Linked DNA regions of Homo sapiens: regions 2 and 3 are each linked to region 1. The links are contacts of gene promoters, found by promoter capture Hi-C in blood cells and fetal thymus (Javierre and others, 2016). All regions are on one chromosome and are shown on one strand. The core of a region is centred on a gene start or on the middle of the fragment in contact, and the rest is flanking DNA. Distances in the headings are between cores, read along the strand shown. Region 1 holds the start of HAS1 (hyaluronan synthase 1). Region 2 has its middle 33 kb from the start of FPR3. Region 3 overlaps SIGLEC5 (sialic acid binding Ig like lectin 5).

Region 1 (3,959 bases), core at 824-3,323:
AGCTCCGGGACAGGCTGGAAGAGATGGAACTGCAGGGAGAGACGAAGATGTAGAAACAGAGAAATGGAGAGAAACTGAATGAGAGAGACAGAGACAGAGAAACACATACAGAGATAGAGCCTTACAAAGAGATAGGTGCGGTGGCTCACGCCTGTAATCCCAACACTTTGGAAGGCCAAGGCAGATGGATCACTTGAGGTCAGGAGTTGGAGACCAGCCTGGCCTACATAGTGAAACCCCATCTCTACTAAAAATACAAAAAATTAGCCAGGTGTGGTGGTGGGCGCTTGTAGTTCCAGCTACTCGGGAGGCTAAGGCAGGAGAATCGCTTGAACCCGGGAGGCGGAGGTTGCAGTGAGCCGAGCTCACGCCACTGCACTCCAGCCTAGGTGAGAGAGTGAGACTCCGTCTCAAAAAAAAAAAAAAAAAAAGAGAGAGATGGGGATGCAGAGAGACGGAAGGAGGATAGAGACAGAGCTAGAGAGGGAGGGAGATAGAGGGAAAAAGAGACAGAGAGAAAGAGACACACACACATGGACACACAGTGAGAAAGTCAGGGAGAGGCACTCAGAAAGAAAGAGAGCCACACAAGAAGAAAGTCAGGGAGACTTCAGAAATGCAAAGGGACAGACACTCCCAGGTAAAAGCAGAGAGAGAATGGCTGTGAGGGGGGATGAGGAGGAGAAACAGACAGGAATACACAGAGGCAGAGACCCAAATAGAGGGACCGAGAAACAGAGATGGGGTGACAGATACAAAATGACAGAGATTTGGGGAGGGACAGACGAGGAGAGAGAAGCACGGGGGAATTTCTCTCTGCTGCTCCATGTCTTTCAGCCTGTCCTGGAGCTGGCCCGTGCCAGACACCAAAGGTCGTTGGAGTCACAGGCAGGGAGAAAAGAACGAGGCAGCTACCGAGGCAGCTACCAAGGCCGAAAGTGAGACATCAATAGTTCACAGTAAGAGGAGCAGAGAGAAGAACAGAATTAGATACAGATAGTTTTTTTAAAAAATTCATGGAAAGAAGGGCATGTAAACAGACATTTATCACAGATCTGGTCCTGAGGGGCTGGGGTTCGGGCACCCCAGGTCCCGCATCTCTTTTCACCCTTCCTCTGACTCAGTTTCCCTGATGGGTGACAGCACTGACAGACCCCGGCTGGCTCCCCAGGGTCAGCTGACCGACAACTCTCTGTGTTCATCCCTGAGTCCCTGGGGATACAAATCCCAGCGCCCCAGCTCTCCACCCCAGACCCTGGTGCACACACGCAGACCCACGTCAGTTAGGCGCTGAATGGACAGATGTTCACTCACAGCTCCGGTTCCAGGCAGCCGTGCCTCGGGCCAGCGTACACACAGGCACACCCACAGCACGCACGTGTGTGAGTTTCGTTCCATCTGCCAGTTGCTGAGACATGTCCCTGGGGGGCCCAACCCAGAGATGGATTCTGGGGACAGGAGAGGCGGCTGTGGGGAGAAGCAGGGCGGGGGTGACTGGGGAAGGTGAGAAGGGGGAGGTGGGGAGAGCTTTAAAGCAAGAAGAGAAAGAAATGAGGGTGAGAGGAGGCAAGAGAAGTGGAGAGGAAGAAAGGGATGGAGAGAAAGACAGAAACTTGGAGAAATGTGGTAATGGGGAGAGAGATGAGGGTACCAACAAAGAGATGAGGAGAAATAGTGGGTTAGGGAGAAAGAAAGGGATGGAGGGAAATACAGGGATAGGGGATGGGGGGATGAGGGGAACCCCCAAAATGCAAGTGAGGTGGAAGAGAAAAATCAGGGGAGACAAGGGACGAGAGGGGGGAGGAAGAGAGAAGAAGACATAGAGGAGGGAGGGAGAGGAGGGGGAGTGATGGCAGAGAGGACTAGAGGAGGGGCGCGGGTAGACATGGGGGCCTGGGAAGGGAGGCCCGTCTGGCTGAGGGGGGTGGGAGTAATAGCGGGAAGCGGGTGGAGCTGCCCGGCTGGGCCGTGACCTCAGAGCCCCTGGCCCAGCTTAGCCTGACTGACGTCAGCGCTCGCTCCCGCCCCCGCCTGCGCTGGTCTTCAAATGACCCCCCTCCAGCTCTCTGGCCACAGAGAGGCTGGGAGAGCAAGCCGGAGAGAAGAGAGAGCCCGGCCAGACCCACTGCGATGAGACAGGTGTGTGTGTGTGTGTGTGTGTGTGTGTGTGTGTGTGTGTATACAGCCATGTGGGGAAAACTACTGCCATATGTGTGACCACGTGTGTTGGGGAACTGTGTGTGCATGATTTCATGTGTGTATCCATGTGCCTGACAGTGACCATATGTGTGTAGGGGACAGTGAGCATGTGAGGCTGAGTGTGCAGGTCTGTGTATACATTGCCCTGTGTGAGCGGCCATCCCAAGTACATGTAGGTGAGACGTGCCATGTCCGTATTTCTGTATCTGCGTATCTTGCTACAAACTTGTGTATGTCTATGTTCCCTGGGAGGCAGAGAGAAAGAGGGAGTGCGACAGTGAGCGAATGAAAGAGACTGAGTGAGAAAGAGAGTTGGATTTGCCTGTGGCACATGGGAATGGATTTCTGTTTCATGCGTTCAATAGCTATTAAGTTGAACCAAATGAAATCGCCGATACTGAGCCACTCTAAACTTGGAAGAATAGCAATTTCATCTGGTTCAGTATCAGCTTGACAGTCACCTACTATTTCTCTTGAAATCTTCCCTGTGCATCCCATTGCCCCAGACTCTCAGTTGGGGCTCTGTGTGTTTGTGGCCACGTGGACATCCTTTGCTGGTGTTGCTTTTTCCTGCTGAGGGGTGTGTGTCTGCAGGTTCACCTGTGTGGCCGTCGGTGGGGGTCACGGGATCGCTGTGTTTGGCCTGAGTGGGTGTCTCGGGTCATCCTGTAGAACACGAGTAATTTCATTCTGTGTGTCACTCATCATGTGTGAGTTCACGTGTGGGGGAGTGTGTCTACACGTGTGTTCATCTGTGTTTCTGGAATCAACTCTCTGGATCCCCAGCATGAATTGAGCCATCCCTAGGAACTCAGGCAAGGCCAGGTTTGAAGCAAAGGAAGAGAGAAGGGGGATTCGAGAAGAAAGAATAATGTTTAATGTTGAGAGTTTAAAAGCTGTACCTCAGTTTTGTCCTCTAGAAATGTAACGAAAACCACAATATCTAATTTAAAATTTTCTTGTGGCCACATTTGAAAAAGTAAAAACAAACAGGTGAAATTAATTTTAATAATATATTTTTATTTAACCCAGTGTGTCAGGGGCCAGCACATTTTTTTAAATAAAGGGCCCAATATTAAATATTTGAGGCTTTTGGGGGCCATCTGGTCTCTTTTGAAAGTACTCAACTTCGATGTGGTAAATGTAGAATCAGCCACAGATGATGTATAAACAAATGAATGTGGTTGTATGCAAATAAAACTTCCTTTAAGGACACTGAAATTTGAATTTCATATTTTTCATGCTCCACAAACTATTATTCTTCTTTTGGCTTTCAAAAACCATCTAAAAACACACACACAAATTCTTAGCCTGCAGGCTGCAGCAGGTCTTAGCATGCCGACCCCTGCTACATATAAGATATGATCATTTCAATATGTAATCAATACATAAATGTTAATGAGCTATTTTACTTTCTTTTCCCCAGACTTGGCCTTCAAAATCCAGTGTGTTCATAGCACTTCTCACTTAGATGCTACCTTTTCACTGGAAATACCTAATCTGTGTTTAGATTTTATAAGATTTACAATTATAAAAGGGGCATCGTAGATGCAACTTGTTCCAGACATATTTAAAATCTTTCCAATAACCGAATCAAGTAAGAGTTTTTAAATTTAAATGAATTAAAATTAAATAAAATTTAAAACTCAGTTCCTCGGTGATACTGGCTGCATTTCAAGTACTCGGTAGACACATGTGGCTGCTGACACCTGTGTTGGACACAAAGATCTACATCTTAACGACGCATTTAAATAACCCAC
Region 2 (3,959 bases), core at 462-2,961, 100 kb before region 1:
TTACTCCATTGGATTCATAGGCAAGCACCAAATGTCTGAACCTGCAGTGCAGTAACATGGCAATGGATGTCACTGTTGTCCTTGATAAGAGTAGTCCCACTGCAGTAATCAGGACATGAACCCATTTAGAATGAGTTCTGGAGAAAATGTGAAATGAGGAAGTAGAGAAAGAAACTGGAAGTGACCCTTGAGTTTGCTGTCAAGGAGAGCAGAGAAATTTGTTGTAAAGTTCAGGAGGACGCGTGTGGTACAAAAGGTTTTTATGTTTTCAGTTAGTAGATTAGAGAACAGATGTATATGCTGATGGCAAAAACACAAAAAGAAAATGGCATGATAAAGTAGACAGAGAGACTATTTTCATTTCTTCCACTCAATTTCTACTAATTTATATTAGTTAATGCTTCATCTTTCCTCTGTTTTTTTTTTTTTTTTTAAACACTAGAAGCATATGCTATGTCAGTCAGGTTTCCACCAGATAAATAGGACTCAAAATGGATCACAGACCTAAATGTAAAAGACAAAATTATAAAACTCCTAGAAGATAACAGGAGAAAATCTAGATGACCTTGGGTTTGGCACCCTGTTGTTTTGACTTTACAAATTGTTACTAAAAACATCTGGGGGTGAGCTCCATTTGCACTGGCCTTGTGGGCAGTTGTTTCCCTTTTGAAGGTGCCCCACTTGACCTCTGAGTGGCTAGTGGGGACAAGGAGTGATAGCAGGAAGGAATGCAGCAACCAAGGAGGCACTGGCCTCAGCAGCACTTGCTCTTGAAAATTGCCAAGGGGACTTGTGCAGTTGCCATATTACAGGTTAGGCTTAGGTGACTTGATCCTTTCATCCTGGCTCTCCTTTATCAACACACTGAAGCCCAGCATTTTATCATCTTTTCTGACTTCACTATGAGGGAATTGCTGCTACCCAGGAGCCTGGTATCCTGTGGCTCTCTCATCAGTGAGATGTGTAGGAGATCGGTCAGGATGGTGGGAAAAGTTGTAAGATAAATTATAGGAAAAGGATGCAAACCTTCTTGGAAGGCCTGGGATTTGCATAGCTTCAGAAGAGGATTTGGCTGAAGGCAGCTGAATTTTCTCAGAATGGATAACAAGGAAGTGTAAAGGAATTGATCTAGATAAGTTAGTTTACTTAGGCCTCGGAACCTGGTATTTAATCATCTGTGCACAGGACTGCTGTCTTGGGGGGTGGGGGGTGACAATGTTAATTACCCACAAGACGTGTTGACTCCAGGCCTTTGTCATTAAATCTGTACTGAATAAATGCCCACAGTGCCAGCTTGTCGGGGCTGTGGCTACTGACTCTTTACAGCTCCCTCCTCGGTGTCTGTGAGCTGCCCAGTCCCCTAGCCTGCTTTTTCACTGGATATCAGTCTCAGAGTGCATTTTTCATCTGTCATTCGGCCAGGTTGGACCCTGGCAGAGATGGACATAGAGTTTCACCATACTGGCCAGCTCACTCTGGCTGGAGACCAGGACTTTGCAACTTATACCCAGTACAGGCCAGACTACTACCAAGACCCCATGTAACAAGAGCAGCATATATAGCTCAAGGGACAACGTGCCCTCAAGTAGTGGCCTGTCACCAGGGGCCTGATTAGAGAAAGAGTGACTACTGTTCATAGCGAAACATCCTCATTACAATGAAACCTGCCCTCCAGGAGCTGCAGGGGAGCCTGAAGGCTCAGAGAGCTGTCTATATTCACCAGAGTTTCTGGAGAGTCCCCAAGGCAACACCTGACAACAGCAGTACTAAGTTGCACAAAGCAACAAAAAATCTAAAACCAGCAAGCAGTAGTGCTGTCCCAGACCGACCAGGCCTGATACAGGAAGTTAGTGAGCCATCCACATGGACATACATTGGGAAGTATTTCTTTGTGGTAACTGTCCCATAACTTTAAAAAAAAAATCTCAGTTTCCTGAACCCACAATATATCATAATGCAATGGGAATTGAGACTCCACAATGAAAACTCCTAAAGAGGAAAAGAAAAATGGAGAGGATGTAGCAGGCACTGTTCTACTGCAATTAACCAAGGCCAGTGGGAAGGAATAGTAAGAATCCCCTGTCCTGGCAGTGGAGGAAGTCTCTTAATTAGCCCATCTGGAAGCCCTGGCTCTCCTATCTAGGTTTTGTCCTTGTGCCTTTTTATTTTCTTTTTCTTTTTCTTCTCCTTTTTTTTTTTTTGAGATGGAATCTTTCTCTGTCTCCCAGGCTAGAGTGCAGTGGCACATTCTCAGCTCATTGCAACCTTCACCTCCCAGGTTCAAACAATTCTCCTTCCTCAGTCTTCCAAGTAGCTGGGATTATAGGTGCACACCACCATGCCCAGATAATTTTTGTATTTTTAGTACAGACAGCGTTTCAACATGTTGGCCAGGCTGGTCTAGAACTCTTGACCTCAAATGATCCACTCACCTCGGCCTCCCAAAGTGCTGGGATTACTGGAGTCAGCCATCATGCCCAGCCTTGTTCCTTATTTTCTATGGCTACACCTTGGCTGGGCATTTAAGAATATACACCTCCTGGGAACTCTAAAGCATTTATAGGAGTCAAACGTGCAAATGAAATGCGCAAAGTGCTCTGCCTTGGAAATGCAATAACTTTAGGAGAGACAGAAGGGAAAAGGAGAAGAAAATGAGTAAAGCAGTGGGGTGAGTGAGAACACTGATAACAGGATTGCCTGATATTCATGTTGAGTGGTGTCTTTTGCCAGTGCATCAGGAAAGTATGTTCACAATACAGAATTGACAATTTCTGAGTGTTTATGTGCAGAAAGCAAGGTAAAGGGCTGAGTTATGAGTTATTTATTTAAATATGAAGTCTTTAGGCAATGGTTAACCAGAGTAGTTTACTTAAGCAGAAACTCAAAATCAGAAATGTTCATGAAAATGTAAGCCAGCTGGGAATTTACAAATACTGTGGACATGAGGATGGGAATTTACTAGACCTGACCTGATTCATATTATGAGGGCTGGAGATAATTTTGACTGGACATTAAGTGATATTATTGTTTATCAATGCCATAAACATTTATTGAGTGCCTATCACATATCAGACACTATCTTATTTGCAGGGGATTGGGATCCATCAGCAAACAATATAGACCAAAATACCTGCCCTCAGATAGCTTACATTCTCATTACTTGAAAGAAACATATCAAGTACCATACAGTTATTATACTGTCTCATGCCAATAAGTGAAACCACATTTGCAAAAATTTTGACAGTGAGAGAAATCTAACGTGGCTGACTCCTTCCTGCCTCTAGCCTCAAAGGTTATCTGTCTTTGTTCACTCCTGGTTGTAGGCTAAGATAACTGGGGAAGAATTTAGTTTATAGTTTAACATGGAAGCAAGGATGATAGTAGGCCTTCCCTAACTAACACCCTTCTTGCTCTGAGACTGAAAAGTAATGAAAGGCCCTAAGATTAGGATTATTCAAGGAGTCTGAATTCTGCTAAAATGTAGGATTATAGTTTCTATAATCCTTTATTGCCAGACGTCATGTGGCCAGAGACACCTGGGCAGTAAAGACCAAGATTTGTGACTTCCCCAATCACTTCTATAGGTAACACCTCTATTGTAGAACCTAGGATTAGTCTTTTGAGATGTTTTTCAGACTTGCATTCTAGCAACTGACTGACCTTACCAGGGCTCATGACTTATGACTCAAGTGGTCCTGTGACCCCCTCACTCCAAGGCAGACTCAGTGCTTGAGGACCACTTTCCACTCTCCTATGATTGCCTTCCCAACCAGTCAGCAGCACCCATTCCCTAGTCTCCTGCCCACCAAACTATCTTTGAAAAACCATAATCTCTCAGCCTTGAGGGAAACTGATTTGACTGATAACTCCAGTTCATCCATGTGGCCAGCATCATGTTTACTGCAATACTGCATCTTTCTTTACTGCAATACTACAGTCTCAGTAAACTGGTTTTGTCT
Region 3 (3,384 bases), core at 874-3,373, 110 kb after region 1:
CTTCATCCTTCCCTACTTCCTTTTAGGGGATACTTCTGACGGCCCTTCTAGCTCACTAATTTGCCCTCAATTATAGTCATTCTATTCTCCATCCCATCCATTGGGCTCTTCCTATGATATTTTTCAGATATTTCCACATGGCCCTTTTTGCATCAAGTACACAATTACATAATTCCTTATTATGTTTCACATTCATTTTGCATGCACACTTTGTTATTGACAAAGTTTCTTATGCTTGTTTTCATGCTGCTAATATTGCCACATCTTTTTAGTGCATGTAATATGCTCAGTTTAGCTTCTTGACCAAAGCGTCCTAGTACTTGTGCTTCTAGTGGTCTATCAGGTTCTGTTGGTTTGCTTTTCTTCAAAGGTGCCCAGCCTTCTGAGCTGTGAGCTCACATTCCCCTGGGGTTATTGGCTACTCTGGCAGTGTTTCTTGAATGAGGGAAGGGCAGATGCTGGCCTGTGTCAGGCTTACTGAGCCAAAGAAATGACAGGGACGCCGGGCACGGTGGCTCACGCCTATAATCCCAGCACTTTGGGAGGCCGAGGTGGGCAGATCACCTGAGGTCGGGAGTTTGAGGCCAGCCCAACCAACATGGAGAAACTCCGTCTCTACTAAAAATACAAAATTAGCCAGGTGTGGTGGCACATGCCTGTAATCCCAGCTACTCGGGAGGCTGAGGCAGGGGAATCTCTTGAACCTGGGAGGTGGAGGTTGCAGTGAGCCGAGATCATGCCATTGCACTCCAGCCTGGGCAACAACAGTGAAGCATCGTCTCAAAAAAAGAGAAATGACTGGGACAAGCCCCAGGGTGGATCCCCTCAAGAACCCAAACCACACCCAACCAGTCCCACTTCCTATCACCCCAGTAAGGCAGCTTAAGTCATCCCTCCATCTTCAGACCCTCGTGGAGAAGCAACATTGGTCAAGGACTCTCGTTGCATTGTGATCCACCAGCCCTGGGAGTTTGGAGTGGAGAAAATGGCAAGGAGAATGTCAAAGACCAGTGAGCTTCCACCTCCGTTCTCCTTCTCCTCACCCCAGTGGGCCTCTGGTGCTTACCCAACACATGCCTGTTGGACACTGGCACATCATAATCCTGTCCATACTCTGAATTCTGCAGTGAGGGGCAGACAATGTTTGTCCCACTGGAAGGGTAGAGGAGAGAAAGGAGCAGAATTCAAGTATGTTTGGGCTAACCCATCCTCTCAACAAGCCAGCTGTCCCCCCGCCCAGTTCTCCCACCCCTTTTCTTCAAATGAGCCTTAACTTTCCCCTAGGGATATCAGTGTGATTGATTGATCATAAATTGATTTGTAAAGTTTTGTTCACCCAGGAGCTCCATCTTTAGTTCCATCATTGGTAGGTCTTGGAGAACAGAGCCGGTGTATGAATTCACTCTTTTGACAAGAACTATGGTAGAGAGAGCTTTGTTTTCTCCTTTATTTTACCTTTAACCATTCTGCACACTTTCATGCCATAGGCAGAATGGTAAAGCGAGGCACAGCATGGTCCCTGGAGTTTGACGTCCTGCATTCAGGTTCTAGATTCACCCACTTGCAAGCTGTGTGACCTTGGATAAGCTAATGAACCTCTCTGTTTTTTTGTTTTCTCCTATAGAAATTGGGTTATTAATATGCTAGTATCTGTCTCGGATTGTTACAAGGAGTGCTTAGTAAAGTGGCAAGCTCACAGGGAGCTCACTTATAACTGTTACCCAGTATTACTTTTCCTTCTGTCTAACAAGGAACTGCATGACGGGGAGGTATTTGGGTGGTTTCAGTCTGCTTTATGTCCTCATTTATACGAACGGCATCTAGCCCAAAGAAAGCACTCAGCAAAGAGCTATTGAGTGAAAGGGTGAACATACTGCATTGTCCTATTTACTAATCTGAGCTGTGCCTTTTCTTTCAGTTGTCAATTTCACCCTTTTTATTTCATATACCGCACACCTATTGATAGACATATGTCTTTATTTCTTCCTTTGCCTGCATAATGCTGGTGTGCATAGCCACTTTTTCATTTTATTTCATCTTTCTTGTGCCTAATATAAGCAGCTCTCTCCAGAAAGTCTATTTTTTTCTGACACAATGAAGCCATTTTTCCCTAACTGCGGAGTCCTTTTAAAAAAACTGTATGGCCAGGTGTGGTGGCTCACACCTGTAATCCCACCACTCTGGAAGGCTAAGCTGGGCCAGTCGCTTAGCCCAGGAGTTTGAGACCAACCTGGGTAACGTGGCGAAACCCTGTCTTTACAAAAATTAGCTGGGCATGGTGGCTTGTGCCTGTGGTCTCAGCTACTCAGGAAGCTGAGGTGGGAGGATTGCTTGAGCCAGGGACGGGAGGTTGCAGTGAGACGAAATCACACCACTGCCCTCCAGCCTGGATGACAGAGTGAAACTCTGTCTCAAAAAGAAAACTTCTGAGCTACTGTTTGAAGACTCACGTTGCTTTCAACATATTTTCCATAGCGTGATGGGTAGGGATATGGGTGAAGGTGGGAGAGGAAAGAAATTGCTTACTTGTATCTGGTTACCATCTTTGCTGGGGACAGGATCTGCTCCATTTTGTTTCTCTTTCATGGAAACTGGGTCCAGGATCAGAATTGCCATCTCTTTTCTGGTTTGCACATAAGACACCTTGTAACCTATGCCGAAGGTATACATTTGCTTCATCAATAATCCGCTCCTCCTGCCTAGGTCAGGGTCTATGTCTGATTTCTCACACTGTACGTGCCCAGAACCTGAAACAGGGGAGACAGGGCTGAGTTCGAATCCTGGCCTCGCCATGTATTAGATGAATAACCCTGGGCAAGCTACTTAACCTCTCTCCACCTCAGTTTCCCTGTGTGTAAGGTGGGGATAATTAGAATATCTTTTATACTGTTGTGGGTTTTTTTTTGGTGATGATTCAATGTGATTAGTAAGTCCTCAATATGGTCTGATCAATCATAGTATTACAAAATTTTGAAAGAATGAGCGAATAGTTGAGTTCACAGGAAATGTATATGGACAGGTGGGGCCGGGATTTGAACCCAGCCCTGTCTGCCCTGTGCCGGTTCCTGGGCACGTACAGTGTGAGAAATCAGACATAGACCCTGACCTAGGCAGCCTATGGCCTGTCCTTAGGAGGAGTGGATTATAAAAGGATGAATTGATAAATGTCACATCAGCCCAACTTCCCTGTGGGAACCATTTGTTGTATTTTTCTCTTATTTGGTGTTGAGGTCTCTCTTTGGGGAGTGGTCATAAAATCTAGCCCGGCCTTGAATGGGAACCCCAGAGATCTGGCCATCATGTTCACAGTGTGACTTTCACAGAATACTCCTTTATCCTGGCACACCACCTGCTGCCTGAGTGCCCAGCCTGTGACCCCCTCTC

Evidence for each region. Contacts are between HindIII fragments. The CHiCAGO score rates a contact against its expected background, and 5 or more counts as called.
Region 2: a contact is called between a fragment that was not itself captured here and the fragment with the promoter of HAS1 in region 1, in 1 of 17 cell types (monocytes). The highest score is 7.9, in monocytes.
Region 3: a fragment that was not itself captured here is called in contact with the fragment with the promoter of HAS1 in region 1 in 2 of 17 cell types (neutrophils and monocytes); the score reaches 6.2 in neutrophils.

Annotation. Positions count from the first base shown.
Region 1 is chr19:51,722,105-51,726,063 of GRCh38, reverse strand. It overlaps HAS1 (hyaluronan synthase 1), which reads left to right and starts at 2,073. Exons shown (of 5, transcript NM_001297436.2): 1 at 2,073-2,139. The coding sequence starts at 2,131. The HindIII fragment of the contact is 33,518 bases long and covers 1-3,959 here.
Region 2 is chr19:51,826,610-51,830,568 of GRCh38, reverse strand. It overlaps a transcript of ZNF577 not described here. Among named protein-coding and RNA genes, the nearest start is that of FPR3, 33 kb to the right of the region's middle. The HindIII fragment of the contact is 6,940 bases long and covers 1-3,959 here.
Region 3 is chr19:51,613,192-51,616,575 of GRCh38, reverse strand. The region is part of intron 8 of SIGLEC5 (sialic acid binding Ig like lectin 5); the gene reads left to right. LOC124904753 (a long non-coding RNA gene) reads right to left here. Exons shown (of 3, transcript XR_007067313.1): 2 at 2,527-2,747; 3 at 860-1,152. Among named protein-coding and RNA genes, the nearest start is that of SIGLEC5, 16 kb to the left of the region's middle. RefSeq lists a silencer at 760-909. The HindIII fragment of the contact is 7,305 bases long and covers 1-3,384 here.